Regions from separate parts of the Homo sapiens genome. Here region 2 is linked to region 1. The links are contacts of gene promoters, found by promoter capture Hi-C in blood cells and fetal thymus (Javierre and others, 2016). All regions are on one chromosome and are shown on one strand. The core of a region is centred on a gene start or on the middle of the fragment in contact, and the rest is flanking DNA. Distances in the headings are between cores, read along the strand shown. Region 1 holds the start of MED9 (mediator complex subunit 9). Region 2 overlaps TOM1L2 (target of myb1 like 2 membrane trafficking protein).

Region 1 (7,336 bases), core at 2,621-5,120:
TCCATTTTGCAGATGAGGAGACCCAGGCTCAGGGAGGTTAAATAACTTGCCCAGCGTCATAGAGCCAGAGAGGAGCAGAGCATGGAGTCTATGTGCCAAACCCCCTTGCACCCACCCCTCTATTTGGCCGTTGTTCATATTTATCCTATTTACTTCAAGTTATCTCATATACAAGAGATAAAACACCACATAGAAAGTTGCTGTGCCTGTTATATTCCCAGTCCTTGCTTCGTCCCCTGTCCCATCCATGTGAGGTGTATCCCCCAGTTCCTTTTTCAAATACATTTACATAGGTGTCATATTTATGGACAATAGAGAATGTTATTTTTCATGCTTCAACATTTGCATAAGTGGTAATATACTCTATATCCATTGTAGAACTCGCTTTTTCCTCCATTTCCACCATTATGATGTGAGTGTTGTCTATGTTGATATGAATCCATTTCTCTGCACCATCCAGTTCTGTAGTTGCTGGCCACATTTGGATGCTGAGCAGTGATATGTGACTGCTGGAATTGAGATGTACGGTGAGTGTAAAACACCCGGTTTCAAAGACAGTAGGAAAAACAGTAAAATATCCTATTAATAATTTTCATATTGATTACTTGTTGAAATTATAATATTTTGGACATATTGGGTTAAATAAAATGTATCATTAAAATTAGCTTCACCTATGTTTTCTCTCTCTTTTTTTTTTTTTTTTTTTTTGAGACAGAGTCTCGCTGTATCGCCCAGGCTGGAGTGCAGTGGTGTGATCTTGGCTCACTGCAACCTCTGCTTCCCAGCTTCAAGCAATTCTCCTGCCTCAGCCTCCCAAGTAGCTGGGACTACAGGTGTGTGCCACCACGCCCAACTAATTTTTGTATTTTTAGTAGAGATGGGGTTTCACTATGTTGGCTAGGCTAACCTCAAGTGATCCACCCGCCTTGGCATCCCAAAGTGCTGAGATTACAGACATAAGCCATGACACCCGACCTGTTTTCTTATTTTTTAATATGGCTGCTAGAAAACTGAACACCGCCTCTGCGGCTTGCATGTTTGGCTTACATTTTTATCAAAGGGCAGTGATGTGGATCATTCCTCTTAGCTGCTGTCTGTCTGGGTTTTGTTAATTGGTGAAGTAAGAAGTCCTAAATCTAATAGCAAGAAGAATTACTATTTACTGCGCACAGATATTTACTCTAAGTGCTTTACAAGTAATGGCCCATTCAGTCTTGCGAGGTGGCATGGCTGCACGAAGTGAGATTAAGCAATTGCCCAGTCACGAAGCTCCAAGGAGGCTGAGTTGAGGCTGAAGTCAGGCGGCTGCCTCCAAAGCCTGACCTTGTAACCACTAACTGGACAAGGCCCCGTGAGAAACGGCATAAATCCACCTAAGAAAGCAATGACCTTAGAGCTTCCCTTGTGGTGGGGTGAAGTTTCCTTCACCACAATACATTGTCCTTACATATCAATGGAGCATCTGTCTTTCCTGACTTTTAACAGAGCAGGTTATAAACAGACACACATTTGTTGTGGCAATTTCAGCTTTAATGAAACCAGCACAGGCAGTATTTTTCTGACATCCGCTTGCAACATTATGAAGTCAGCTTTACTCTTTGCCACTAATTATATTAACTATTTTTAGGGCAAACTGTCAATGCACCATACTGGTTCATGCTTCCTAGGTTTTCAACCTGTTTTCTTTAGCCATATCTATTTATACCTCAAGTGTTTTTTCTTTTAAGAAGCATCCTCATTTTTCTGACAATGATATAGTTGTGGCTCATAATTAAGTTATAAAACACTCTGGGAGGGCAAAGATGACGTGTGATTGCCATGGGGATATTATTGATGAATATTGGATTGGTTTTTGAATTCTGAATTCAAACCCACTTTAACATTTTGAATCATAAAGTTACAGAACTGGTAGGGATCCGAAGTCTCTTTAGTGTTGGTTAAGATCATAGACTTGGCATCAGCAACTGCGTTGACCCTTAGGCTGGGATCTTAACCATTGTAAGTCTTGGTTTTCTCATCTAGAAAATGGGGATCCTGACATCCATCTTCTAGACCTCTGTCTGTGGATTGAGACAGTGACTGTAACTCTGTTCCCTGTATCTACTTTTACTCCATGGTAGTTGTGGTAATTACTATTATTATTACTATTACTATATCATCTTTCCCCAGATGACTCCAAGGGTATACAGTCTCTTCAAGCACATCTGGCCTTTTTCTCCTCCATGCTCAACCAGAACTCTTGAACTTTCCCTTAGTTGGAGAGGTCAATGGTTAGAAGGAAGAAAACTCCGCAACCCACTCCCTCCCTTTGCTCTCTCTCTGGGGCACCGTGGGCAGCTCTTGCTGCAGAGAGCTGTGCTGAGGCCCTTTACTACAGAACCTGTACAGCGCACCCTCCAACAGCACTTCCATCTATGGTCCTACTCCCCAAGGATCTGCCTCCGCACAGCCCTCCCAATGTGCCTGAAAATATCAGCATTGATCCTTTCCCTGGCCACCTTGCTCTTAAGGCTCCTGTTCATCATGCTATGTGGATGTGGACCTCCTCGCCTCTCTGTACTGCCCATGATGGTGGATTACAGCAGAATGGGCTCACCAGTTGACAGCTTTCCCCACTCATGTCTTCTACTCACTAGCTAAGCTTGGGGTGGGTGTCCCCATTGCCCGGAAAATTACTACACAGCCCTCATATCAAACTTGTTTTGAGAAGCATAACCATAAACCCATCTTTGGCCTATGATCCTAGGGAGTCCTCATGCCAACAAGACCTTTTGGGGTCAGCCACGCATGTGAAGTTAGAATGCAGTTTAGGCTGTGCCATGAATCTGAACTAAATATGATTTTAGGGGTGAGGAAACTGGGACCTAGGGGCTTGGGGAACTGGCCCGAAGGTATGGAGAGTACCTGACCTTGTCGTTCTTCCAGGATATGATATTTACTCCTGGCACCAATCCCCTCTACCTTGTACTGAAAGCAAGGACAGCCTGCCTGCAACCACACATACAGGTGGCCATCCAGCAGGTGCATACTAAATGTGTGTTGAGTTGAATTATTAGACTCTTTCTAAGCAACCTTGCAGCATTGAAGGGACCGCAATCCCTTTGCCTCTGCGTCCTTAGGGCTAAACTCGAGGTCTCGATGTCTTGCACTGTGGGCTGGGCCGGGTTTGGTGCCTCACCCAGCAGGTAAGTGCTGTCTACGCCTCCCACAGGTCCAGTGGCTCCTCTCCAGACTTGGGTGCACTGGGCCAGGCTGCACCTTACTAATCTCAAGGCTTCCTGTGTTTGTGGCTTTGGGGCCCTCTTCATCGTGTGAATAGGAATAAGAAGATTGTTATTTCTGGCCGGGTGCAGTGGCTCACGCCTGTAATCCCAGCACTTTGGGAGGCCGAGACGGGCGGATCACCTGAGGTGGGGAGTTCGAGACCAGCCTGATCAACATGGAGAAACCCCGTCTCTACTAAAAATATAAAATTAGCCGGGCGTGGTGGTGCATGCCTGTAATCCCAGCTACTAGGGAGGCTGAGGCAGGAGAATCGCTTGAACCCGGGAGGCGGAGGTTGCGGTGAGCCGAGATCGCGCCACTGCACTCCAGCCTGGGCAACAAGAGCGAAATTCCGTCTCAAAAAAAAAAAAAAGATTGTTATTTCTGAAATAAACCCCTATTTCTCACTATTTAATAATTTAGCAATCTTGACTCACAATCCAAATCCAGGCACCCCAGACCCACCCACGGCCCGTTGCCTAGCAACAGCCTCCCCACCCCCGCCTCCGCGCCTTTTCCCGCCGACTGCCCAGTGCGCACGCTCAGAGCCTTCCTCCACACCCCGCCCCTGCAGGGCGCGCGGTGGTGACGTGTAGAGTGCGCGACGCTTTTGGCGACCCGACCTCTGGCTAACCTACCCCCGGAGCCATGGCCTCTGCTGGGGTGGCAGCCGGGCGACAGGCGGAGGATGTATTGCCGCCAACGTCCGACCAGCCGCTGCCTGACACCAAGCCGCTGCCGCCTCCTCAGCCGCCGCCGGTCCCTGCGCCTCAACCGCAGCAGTCGCCGGCGCCACGGCCTCAGTCACCTGCCCGCGCGAGGGAGGAAGAGAACTACTCCTTTTTACCTTTGGTTCACAACATCATCAAATGGTAAGAACCTAGGAGAGGACCAGGCCCCATACTCCCTCCAGCTTCTCCTCTCAGCCGTTTCAGAGCTGCAAGAGGCCTTGGCGCTCTGGGGCACGCCCCCGTTTCACAGATGGGGAAACTCAGACCCAGAGCGGGAAGAGGCCTTTCCCAAGACCACAGAGACATTCCATGAGTTAAGCAAACGATTTGAGCCTCGAGAGGTGCGATATCCTTAAGAATGAAGCCAGCTTAGAGACTAAATGCAGACTCTTGTCCAGCGGCTCAAATGTTCATCCCAGCGATCTTGAGCAAATTAAATCTCTTTAAGCCTCAGTTTTCTCACCTTTAATGTTGGTAATACTCACTTTAGTTCCTTAGTTCAGCAAACTCAACAGATAAGCATCATCTTCCCTGTGCCAAGTGCTACGGGATGGACGCAGTAAAAGGGGCCAACTTTTCACCCCCAAAGGTTTAGATAGAAGGAAAAAAAGACATGATTGGGAATAACCCACAATTCAAAAAGATTGAGACGGGAGTGGTGGCGATGGGAAACATTAGACTAAGCAGAAACACAGAAGTTGCCTCAGATGATTAGACCCACTTGTACTGACTTTGTTCTAACAGTACCAAAGGAAATAATTGTTGTCATCCTTTTGGCCAGCCTTCAGGGTAGCCTGAGTTTTCAAAGTGACTCTGTAGAGGAAAAACCAAAAACAAAAACACAAAAGTCTCACTGATCCTTATGTTTGCCTAAATTATTATTTTTTTTGAGAGAGGGTCTCGCTCTGTCACCCAGACTGGAGTACAGTGGCGTGATCTCGGCTCACTGCAGCCTCAACCTCCTGGCCTCAAGCCATCCTCCCACCTCATCCTCCCAAGTAACCGGAACCACAGGCATGAGCCATGGCACCCAGCGAATTTTTGTATTTTTTGTAGAGATGGAGTTTCACCATGTTGCCCAGGCTGTAAATTATTTTCATTATGTTACTTCACTGTATATCCACGTGATACTAGGTGTAAACCCCTAGGCTTGTAACTCTTACTCAACCATTAAAGACCAAAACAAAGTAAATTAAAAGAAAATTACGATTCCAGTAACATTCAGGTGAACATGAATGTGCTCTTCACTGTTTTACTGAAATGGAATTGTTACAACGTGAAGGTCTTGACTGTTAGTGGCCCACCCACTTTTGAGTTTAAGCAAATTAGATTCACTTGCTGTGGGATGACCTGATGCTCTTCTGCCACTTTTCAAATAACTACAAAGGCTTTGTTCTCACATTAGACCCTGGCTTCATTTGGTTTCACTTGGTGTTTAAATACTGTTTATAGGGGCCAGGCATGGTGTCTCATGCCTGTAATCCCAGCACTTTGGGAGGCCAAGGCGGGCGGATCACGAGGTCAGAGTTTGAGACCAGCCTCGTCGACATGGCAAAACCCCATCTCTACTAAAAACACAAAAATTAGCCGGGTGTGGTGGCGGCTGCCTGTAATCCCAGCTACTCAGGAGGCTGAGGCAGGAGAATCACTTGAACCCGGGAGGTGGAGGTTGCAGTGAGCCGAGATCATGCCATTGCACTCCAGCCTGGGCAACAAGAGCAAGACTCTGCCTCAAAAAAAAAAAAAAAGTAATGCTTATAGGATAAGGCAGCCTATTCAGTTTTCGTGAGCCTGTGATAATGATCATAGACAGAAATACATATGGAGCCCCTGTAATCCTAGGGCAGTGCTGGATTATAAAGGGTTTATTCTGATTAACCCTAGTTTACTGGTTTTAAGAAAAATGTGGAAAAATGAAAACACAAAATGTACACATTCACAAGGACAGCTCTTGAACTCCCCAAGAGTATATTCTTGAGCCCTGGTAGAGCAGCTGGGTTGGGTTGGCCTTAAAAGATGTAGTAGTAAGTTATACTAGAGAGAACAGGCTTTGAAGTTAGACAGCCCTGTGTTCAAATCTGTGTACTGACATTTTCTTGCCTTCTAATCTTGATATAAATGCCTAACCTTTCTAGGCCATAATCTTCTTATCTCTAATATGTCCATAGTGGACCTCAAAAGAGAGGTTCAGATTATGTCATAGCTCTATAATGTGCTGACTGGGTGACCTTGGCAAGTAGCTTAGCTTCTCTGAGCCTGTTTTTCTCTTGTGAAATGGGAATGCTTATGTCATAGGATTGTTGGGAGATGTACTCAGGAGTGTACCTGTGAAACATAGTGGGTTGATCACATGTGCTTGTCTCTGTTCCATCTAAAAGGACAGAGAAGGGAGTTTAAAAAAAAAAAAAAGCATAAAACCTTCAGACATGGTGGTTCATGCCTGTAATCCCAACACTTTAGGAGGCTGAGGCGAGCCGGTCGCTTGAGCCTGGGAGTTCAAGACCAGCCTGGGCAACATGGCAAAACCCCGTCCCTACAAAAAATACAAAAAAAATTAGCCAGGCATGGTGGTGTGTGCCTGCAGTCCTGGCTACTTGGGAGGCTGAAGTGGGAGGATCACTTGAACCCAGATCATGCCACTGCATTCTAGCATGGGTGACAGAATGAGACCCTGTGTCAAAAATAAAAAGCATAAAACCAAAAAGAATAGGACAGGAGATGATTGCCACAAAGTGGATGACCAGGGCTAATTCATCTACCAACTCCTAAGCACCTGGTTTGTTAACCATGGCCTATCCCCAGATCTCAGGAACTCTAGTGCAAGGACCCCCTGGAAATAGGGGTGAAGGTGGGTCTAAGAACAGGAAGATTACTTGGAAGTCTGTTTAAGAAGCAGGTCCCCACAGTCCTGTCCCACCTCCCATCCCCTCCAAGCGGCCGGGTGACTACCCTTCTTCCAACTTGGCAGATGGTTAAAAGGTTACTCTCCCGAGATTTATTCTTAGGAAGGAATAAGCCAGAGAGTACCTTGACTGTGGGACACCAGGCACACTGCAGGGGTAGGTAGGGGGAGCCATACTGAAAAGAGGGATTAAGAGAAAGTTCACAGTCTGAAGAGAGACACCACCCGAGCCTTCCCCCACCTGGCTTCTAGATTGGCAGCCAAAGAGAGTGGAAGTGCCCTCTCTATGGTGCGTGACCAATTAAGAGAAAAGACATTGGAAAAAAAAAAAGCCTAGTCAATTAATTCTGAGAAAATGAACAAGCATCACTCATTTGCAGAGCTTCCACTAAGCCTTTTAGTGTTTTATTCTTAAATATATGAGTGGATGGCCAAGGTC
Region 2 (7,336 bases), core at 1,420-3,919, 450 kb after region 1:
AAAAAATACAAAAATTAGCCAGGCATGGTGGTATGCACCTGTAATCCCAGCTACTCGGGAGGCTGAGGCAGGAGAATTACTTGAACCCAGGAGCAGAGGTTGCAGTGAGCCGAGATCGCGCCACTGCACTCCAGAATGGGCAACAGAGCAAGACTCTGTCTCAAACAAAAACAAAAACAAAGGTAAAAATGACTACATATTGTATGATTCCATTTATATAAAATGTCCAGAATAGGCAAATCTATAGAGACAGAAAATAGATTAGTGATTGCCTGGGGTTGGAAGGGCTGGGGGAAATGGGGAGTGATTGCTAATGGGTACGGAATGATGAAAATGTTCTAAAACTGATTGTGGTAATGGCTGAACAACGCTGTGAATACAATGTTTTTTAAAAAAAACTCTGTGACTATACTAAAAACCACTGACTTGTACATTGTAAATGGGTGAATTGTATGGCATATGAATTATATCTCAATAAAGCTGTTGAAAAATGGGAGAAAAGCTACTAGGAATGTGTTCAATGTAGTATTATTTAAAATCCTTAGCTGGGTGCAGTGGCTCAAGCAGGAGGATCACTTAAGCCCAGGAGTTTGAGACCAGCCTGAGCAACATAAACCTTGCCTCTACAAAAAATACAAAATTAGCCAGGCATGGTGGTACATGCCTGTAGTCCCCAGCTACTCAAGAGGCTGAGATAGGAGTATTGCTTCAGCACGGAAGACTGAGGCTGCAGCGAACCGTGATCACATCACTGCACTCCAGCCTGAGGGACAGAGTGAGACCCTGCCTCAAAAATAAAATAAAATTCTTAAAACTTCTCAAATATAAAATAAAAAAGTGATGATTAAATATAGTATATTGATTCCACTGAATATTATATAGCTATTGATATAGTTTGGATATTTGTCCCCACCCAAATCTTATGTTGAATTGTAGTTCCCAATGCTGGAGGTAGGGCCTGGTGGGCAGATCCTTCATGCCTTGATGATGTCTTTGTGATAATTCTTGCAATATCTGGTCAGTTAAAAGTGTGTGGCACTCCCTCCTCCACTCTCTCTCTCTGTTTTTTGTTCCTGTTTTCACCATGTGAGGTGCCTGCTCTCCCTTCCCCTTCTGCCATGAGTAAAAGCTTCCTGAAGCCTCCTCAGAAGCAGCTGCCAGTACTATGCTTCCTATACAGCCTGCAAAACCATGAGCCAAATAAACCTCTTTTATAAATTACCTAGTCTCAGGTATTTCTTTATGGCAATGCAAGAACAACCTAATACAGCCATTATAAGTAATAATTCTTAAAACCATATAGAAACATTTTGTAATGATGTAAGAAAAAAAAGACACAAAATTGATTTTTAAAAAAACATGCATATGGATAATGCCTGGAAGATAAATGGGAAAAAGTGAAAATAATCAGTGTGTTGAAGTATTTGGCTTAAAGGCAAACTTTAAAAATTTTTTATGTTATTACTGTTACAAAAAGAAGGAAAGAGGATATTATACAGCAAAAGACTAAGAAAGAAAGTGGCAAACTAATGACCAAAACTAAAAGCCAGTTATTTAATTCTTCCATCAAAAATAGCCAGGTATAGCCCAGGCGCAGTGGCTCATGCCTCTAATCCCAGCACTTTGCCACGCTGAGGTGGGAGGATCTCTTGAGCTCAGGAGTTCAAGACCAGCCTGGCCAACATAGCGACCTCACCTCGTGTCTACCAAAAAAAAAAAAAAAAAAAAAAATTAGCCAGATGTGGTAACGCATGCCTATAGTCCCAGCTACTTGGGAGGCTGAGGTAGGAAGATCGCTTGAGCCCAGGAGATGGAGGCTGCAGTAAGCTATGATGGTGCCACTGTACTCTAGCCTGGGTGACACAGTGAGACCCTGTCTCAAAAAAAAAAAAAAAAAGCTAGGTATAGGCTATAGGTTAGTCGTGGTGCCTCATGCCCATAATCCCAGCACTTTGGAAGGCCAAGGCAGGAAGTCCACTTGAGCCCAGGAATTCAAAACCAGCCTGGGTAACACAGCAAGACCTTGTCTCTACCAAAAATTTAAAAATTAGCAGGGCTCAGTGGCACGCACCTGTAGTCCCAGCTACTCCACAGGCTGAGGTGAGAGGATCACTTGAGCACAGGATGTCGAGGCCGCAGTGAGTTGTGATCATACCACTGTATTCTAGCCTGGGGGACAGAGTAAAACTCTGTCTCTTGGAGAAAAAAAAAAAAAAAAGCTAGGTACAAGCTTTCAAGCTGGCCTAAACATAAGTAAGCTTCATTACTTAGTCTGAACATACAGACTTAAGGATAAAAGCCTGGTAACCCCAATATCTCTCAAAAGGCATTTTATTCTGACCAGGCCTCCCTGCTAACTCTCCCTTGTCCCAAAGGAGGTCACCCAGGGTACCCAGCTAGTTAAGGAGGACCAAACTGAGAGCCAGTCTGGACTGGCACAAGGGGAGATGCGGACATAAATGTACACGTGTTTCACATTCCAAAGCCAAATACAATAGGGTTCTAGATCATCTGGGAAATTACTCCTATTCATCAACATAGAAAGGTCACGAATATCAACAGTGAGAACAAACAGGGAAGATTACATTTAAATGTAACCATATTTGGGCCTGGTGTGATGGATTACACCTGTAATCCCAGCAGTTTTGGAGGCCGAGGCGGGCGGATTGCTTGAGCTCAGGAGTTCAAGACCAGCCAACATGGTGAAACTCCATCTTTACAAAATATACAAAAATTAGCTGGGCCTGGTAGCACACGCCTGTAATCCCAGCTACTTGAGAGGTTGAGGCACAAGAATCGCTTGAACCTGGGAGGCAGAGGTTGCAGTGAGCAAGGATCACACCACTGCACTCCTGTCTGGGCGACAGAGAGGGACTCTGTCTCAAAAAAAAGGAAGAAAGAAAAAGAAAAAGAAATGTAACCATATTTAAATATGAAGAAGAGCCCCAACACAAGCATGTATTCCTGTTTATACAATATTCAGGGCTAACAGACTTATCACACACAGGTTGTGTAACTTATTAATGACAATGTGACTTTAAACAGTAGTTCTAAGTGGGTCACCTTGAATAATACGAAACAAAGCTTGCCAAGGGAAACATGCAAATAAGATCAAAATCCAACAGGGAATAGGCATTTTCCTAGCTTTTCGGATTTTTACTGTAGAAAAATAAACACAGTATCTATCTAGTTTCTTTAGCACTAAAAAAACCAACAGCATGAAACTGCATTCTTCAATGGGGGTGGAGTCCAAAGGGACAGGCCCGACATTATTTTCAGCACACTGTACCAAGTCAAGCTGGTATGTGGATAAAGCAGCACAGCTGGGTTTACCATGTGAGTAACGGGCAGAGAGAACCTACCACCCTATGTGGCGCAAACCACATGAGGCCAGCTGCAGAGGCTGTGGAGAGAGGCCTCTCTTTATCCCTTCTTCTTTCCCTCCATCTCTTTCTGAGGCCAGGACCTGCATGCAGACCTTTCTTGATAAAGAACTCAACCTCAATGTGATACATCAAGGGAAACATTCCCTGAAGAACATGGTGGAGCAAATAAACATTTGGCCTCGTGAGAATGGCCACAGAAAACACTAGGGAATCTTAAACTGTCAGTTGGATGACTAGATATTTTATGATATTAAGGATTATGATTAATTTATTTTAGATATGATAATAAGCTGTTGGCTATACTTTTTTTTTTTTTTTTTGAGACAGGATCTCACTCAGTCACTCAGGCTGGGAATGCAGCGGCACAATCTTGGCTCACTGCAGCCTCAACCTTCCAGGCTCAAGTGAGCCTCCCACCCTCAGCCTCCTGAGTAGCTGGGACTACAGGCATGTGCCACCACACCTGGCTAATTTTTGTATTCGTGGTACAGCCAGGGTTTCACTATGTTACCCAGGCCTCCCAAAGTGTTGGGATTACAGGCATGAACCACCACACCCAGTCAGCTATACTTTTAAAAAGATTCCTTATCTTTTAGAAATGCATACTTAGGTATTCATAGATGAAATTATATGATGTCTGGGATTTACTGAAAAATAATCCAGGATAAAAGTGTGTGGGGCTATGGATGAACCAAAACTGCCATGAATTGATAATTGTAGAAGCTCAATGATGAGTATGTGGGGGTTCATTATAGTCATCTTTTTCCTTTTGTATATGTCTGAAATTTTCTGTAACAACAAAAAAAATCAGTAGGAGACAGCATAAAACCATTCATAACTTTGACCCGGCAATAGCCCCCTAAGGAAATAAATAAGGGGGAAGGGGAGAGCTGATTCTGCAAAGATGCATAATTGAGAAAAACACTGCTGCTCCCAACAAACGAGAAGATGGCTAAGCAACGAGGGTACATCAATAAGGCAAAAACGCTACGTGGCTTTTTAAAATGATAAATACTTCAGCCTAGTCGCTAAGTGGAAATCGGCATAGGAATGCTAAGAGGAAAACAGGCAGGATAAAATATTATGTGCATACTAATCACCACAAGGTAAAAATGCATGCTCACATAATGGAAAGGGTCAAAAGAGAACACAGAAGGCGACACCCTCCCTTTAACACTCAGCTCGTTGCCTCCTCTCAGTGAGGGCCCCAGACGGCCCCCGCGTGAGCATGCACACACGAGATGAATTAATTGCACTCTTCTGGGATCTCACAGTCCTCACTTGCTGAGGCTCATCCAGCCCCTATTGCTTGTCTAATGGTTCCTCATGGACCTGCCTTCCCTGATGCACCATGAATTTTACCAGCACACAGTAGGTATTCAATAATGTGTGTCAAACAGAATAGAACATAAATAGCTGCTGTCTGTGTCTCAGGATTTTTTTTTTCTTTAGAGCTATTCCCACCCACAGTAGCCATTCAGGAAAGGCATTCCTCAGTATCAGAGAACAATGCTTCCATTTCTGATTCACAAAGTGCTTCTGCTACGTGGGTTTATGAAGCCAGCAAGGCAAAACAAAATCAAGCAGACTTTCTGTCTAGATCCTTGCTGGACCACACAGAAAAATCCCATTTTGTTTTGCAAGCTTGTAACAAGTCTCATTGCTATGGTTCCTAATACCAAGTCTGAAGATTCCCCAAGCACTGCTGTGAGAACGGGCCTTTCCTTGGCTACTTAAAAATGCTGCATGGCTGCTCTCTGTGGCTGGCACTATAGTAAAGGGTACAAGCCAGAATGCAGTCGGGACTGTGGCTGCTCAGCAGCGTCAGGCGGGGAAGTCAAGAACTGCCCATCTAGACAGAAGTGGGCAGCAACACAGCCTGGGCCATGCTCCACCCAGTCTGAATGTTTCTCCATCTCTTCTGCTTAGAGCTGCTTTGAGCAGCAGGCTTTGGGTGGGTGAGAGGGGTTGATAGGGATATTCAAGAATGTCAGAGCCTGGGCGTGGTGGCTCACGCCTGTAATCCCAGCACTTTGGGAGGCAGGTGGATCACCTGAGATCGGGAGTTCCAGACCAGCCTGACCAACGTGGAGAAACCCCATCTCTACTAAAAATACAAAATTAGCCAGGCGTGGTGGAATGTGCCTGTAATCCCAGCTACTCAGGAGGCCGAGGCAGGAGAATCGCTTGAACCCGGGAAGCGGAGGTTGTGGTGAGCCGAGATCGCACCATTGTACTCCAGCCTGGGCAACAACAGCAAAAACTCCATCTCAAAAACAAAAAAAAGAATGTCAGGAAGAAATCCATAGACTGTCATTTTTCAGAGCAGTAGTTAACTTTTTGGATAAGATGTTAAAGGAAGAATACATTCCCTTTGAAAATCTGATAAGACCTTTCCAGAGAATTACACACACAATTCTGCACACACTTTCAACAGGTTATTCACCAATCCCTGGCCTCAGTCAGATACCACTTCTGCCCTAGAGCTTTAGCTGTGACTGTTGGTATGAACACTTAGACAAGTTAAACACAACATGAATTTCCACAACAGCAAGGCAGCTGCGATGAGTGAGGTACTACAGAGAGTGAGTGACAGCTCTGTTGGGAGGGCTGTCTCTGTGTCTTTATGAAGACCACTAGCAGAGATACAGAGCCCATGCCTGGGCACACACAGGAAGGCAAGAGCACCATGGTTAAGACACTCCATTCCAAAAACAAAACAAAAAAGACACTCCATTCTAGTTCTTCAGAAATGAGACTGCCAAGCCTGAAGTCCTTAAGGTTATCAGACCATGAGACAGCCTCTTTTTGTTGGACTGGAATGCTGACACTACTCATTATGCAGTCATTTTACCGAGTGTTGCCTTAAGTGCTCCAGAAAGTGGGGTATAGAGAATTACCAACATACAAACTTTAGCCCATTCTCCTAACAAAAACCAAAAAATTGGTCCAGATGGTCTTAGGAAATGACCAAATCAGAGACTCTTGTGAAAGTGGTTAAAAAAAAGGGGGGTCTGGGAATGTGTAGGACCTAACTTTGAACTTGGTAGGCACAAGGAGGACTGCAGAGACCCTCACGGTAGACAGACACCTGGCAGGCCCCTCCTGACACTTGGGGCTCCTAAGTCTGACTTATTCCACATCTTGTCCAAGAGATAAAATACCCTTCCCCAGCAGCCTCTTGCAATCAGCTCATCAATATGCCATGAAAATGTTTTGAAACAAGCTTTGGTCACATCACTGCCCTGTTCCAGCCCTTTATTAACTTTCCTTGTGATGGTACAAGAAGGGTATGTTCCATTTACTTCCAAAAGGAATTTAGGGTAATTTTAGTAATAATTTATACCCAAGACAAATAAAACAAGAAGGCTGAAAACCAAATGGAATAAAAGAAGAAATGTTTTACCAAGAACCAGAGAGATAAGACAGTTATTGCAACTAGACACTAATTAGGCCCATGCTTCCTGGTGGCCTGGGCAAGAAGGGAAAGACAATGAGTTTCCACAGTCCTTCCTTGCTGATTAAAGGCAGAATAAAAGGCATTCCTCTAGGATGGGGATTTTTTTTCCCTAACAGTAAGTTTTGAGATTTATTGCAGTCACTCATATTAAGGAATAATGAATAGCATAATATGGAATGTCTTCAACAACAGTTTCATATAAAATATAAAATGTTCTTCCTGTAACTTAGCCTGGTATTAACTGCCCTTTACCATTTGTCCCAGTTACTTTTGCAGCCTCTCTTTTCCTATTTTGCCCCATCCCATCCCCACAAAGAACTACACATTCAACCAAACCAGACTCCTCTTTCCAAGAACACATCCCCACCTTTTCGTTACTACCTATTTTTACCCATCCTATCCTCTTTAAATCCTTCCTCTTCTACAGATTTCCCCAATTCTCCAATCAAAAGAGGTCTCATTCTACCACGCAGCCCATGCCTCTGCACTG

Evidence for each region. The method cuts DNA at HindIII sites, captures the fragments that hold promoters and counts their contacts. A CHiCAGO score of 5 or more calls a contact.
Region 2: a contact is called between a fragment that was not itself captured here and the fragment with the promoter of MED9 in region 1, in 1 of 17 cell types (naive B cells). The highest score is 6.0, in naive B cells.

Annotation. Positions count from the first base shown.
Region 1 is chr17:17,473,130-17,480,465 of GRCh38, forward strand. It overlaps MED9 (mediator complex subunit 9), which reads left to right and starts at 3,871. Exons shown (of 2, transcript NM_018019.3): 1 at 3,871-4,136. The coding sequence starts at 3,913. RefSeq lists an enhancer at 3,875-3,974. The HindIII fragment of the contact is 9,122 bases long and covers 2,640-7,336 here.
Region 2 is chr17:17,923,975-17,931,310 of GRCh38, forward strand. All of the region lies in intron 1 of TOM1L2 (target of myb1 like 2 membrane trafficking protein), which reads right to left. Among named protein-coding and RNA genes, the nearest start is that of TOM1L2, 45 kb to the right of the region's middle. The HindIII fragment of the contact is 826 bases long and covers 2,257-3,082 here.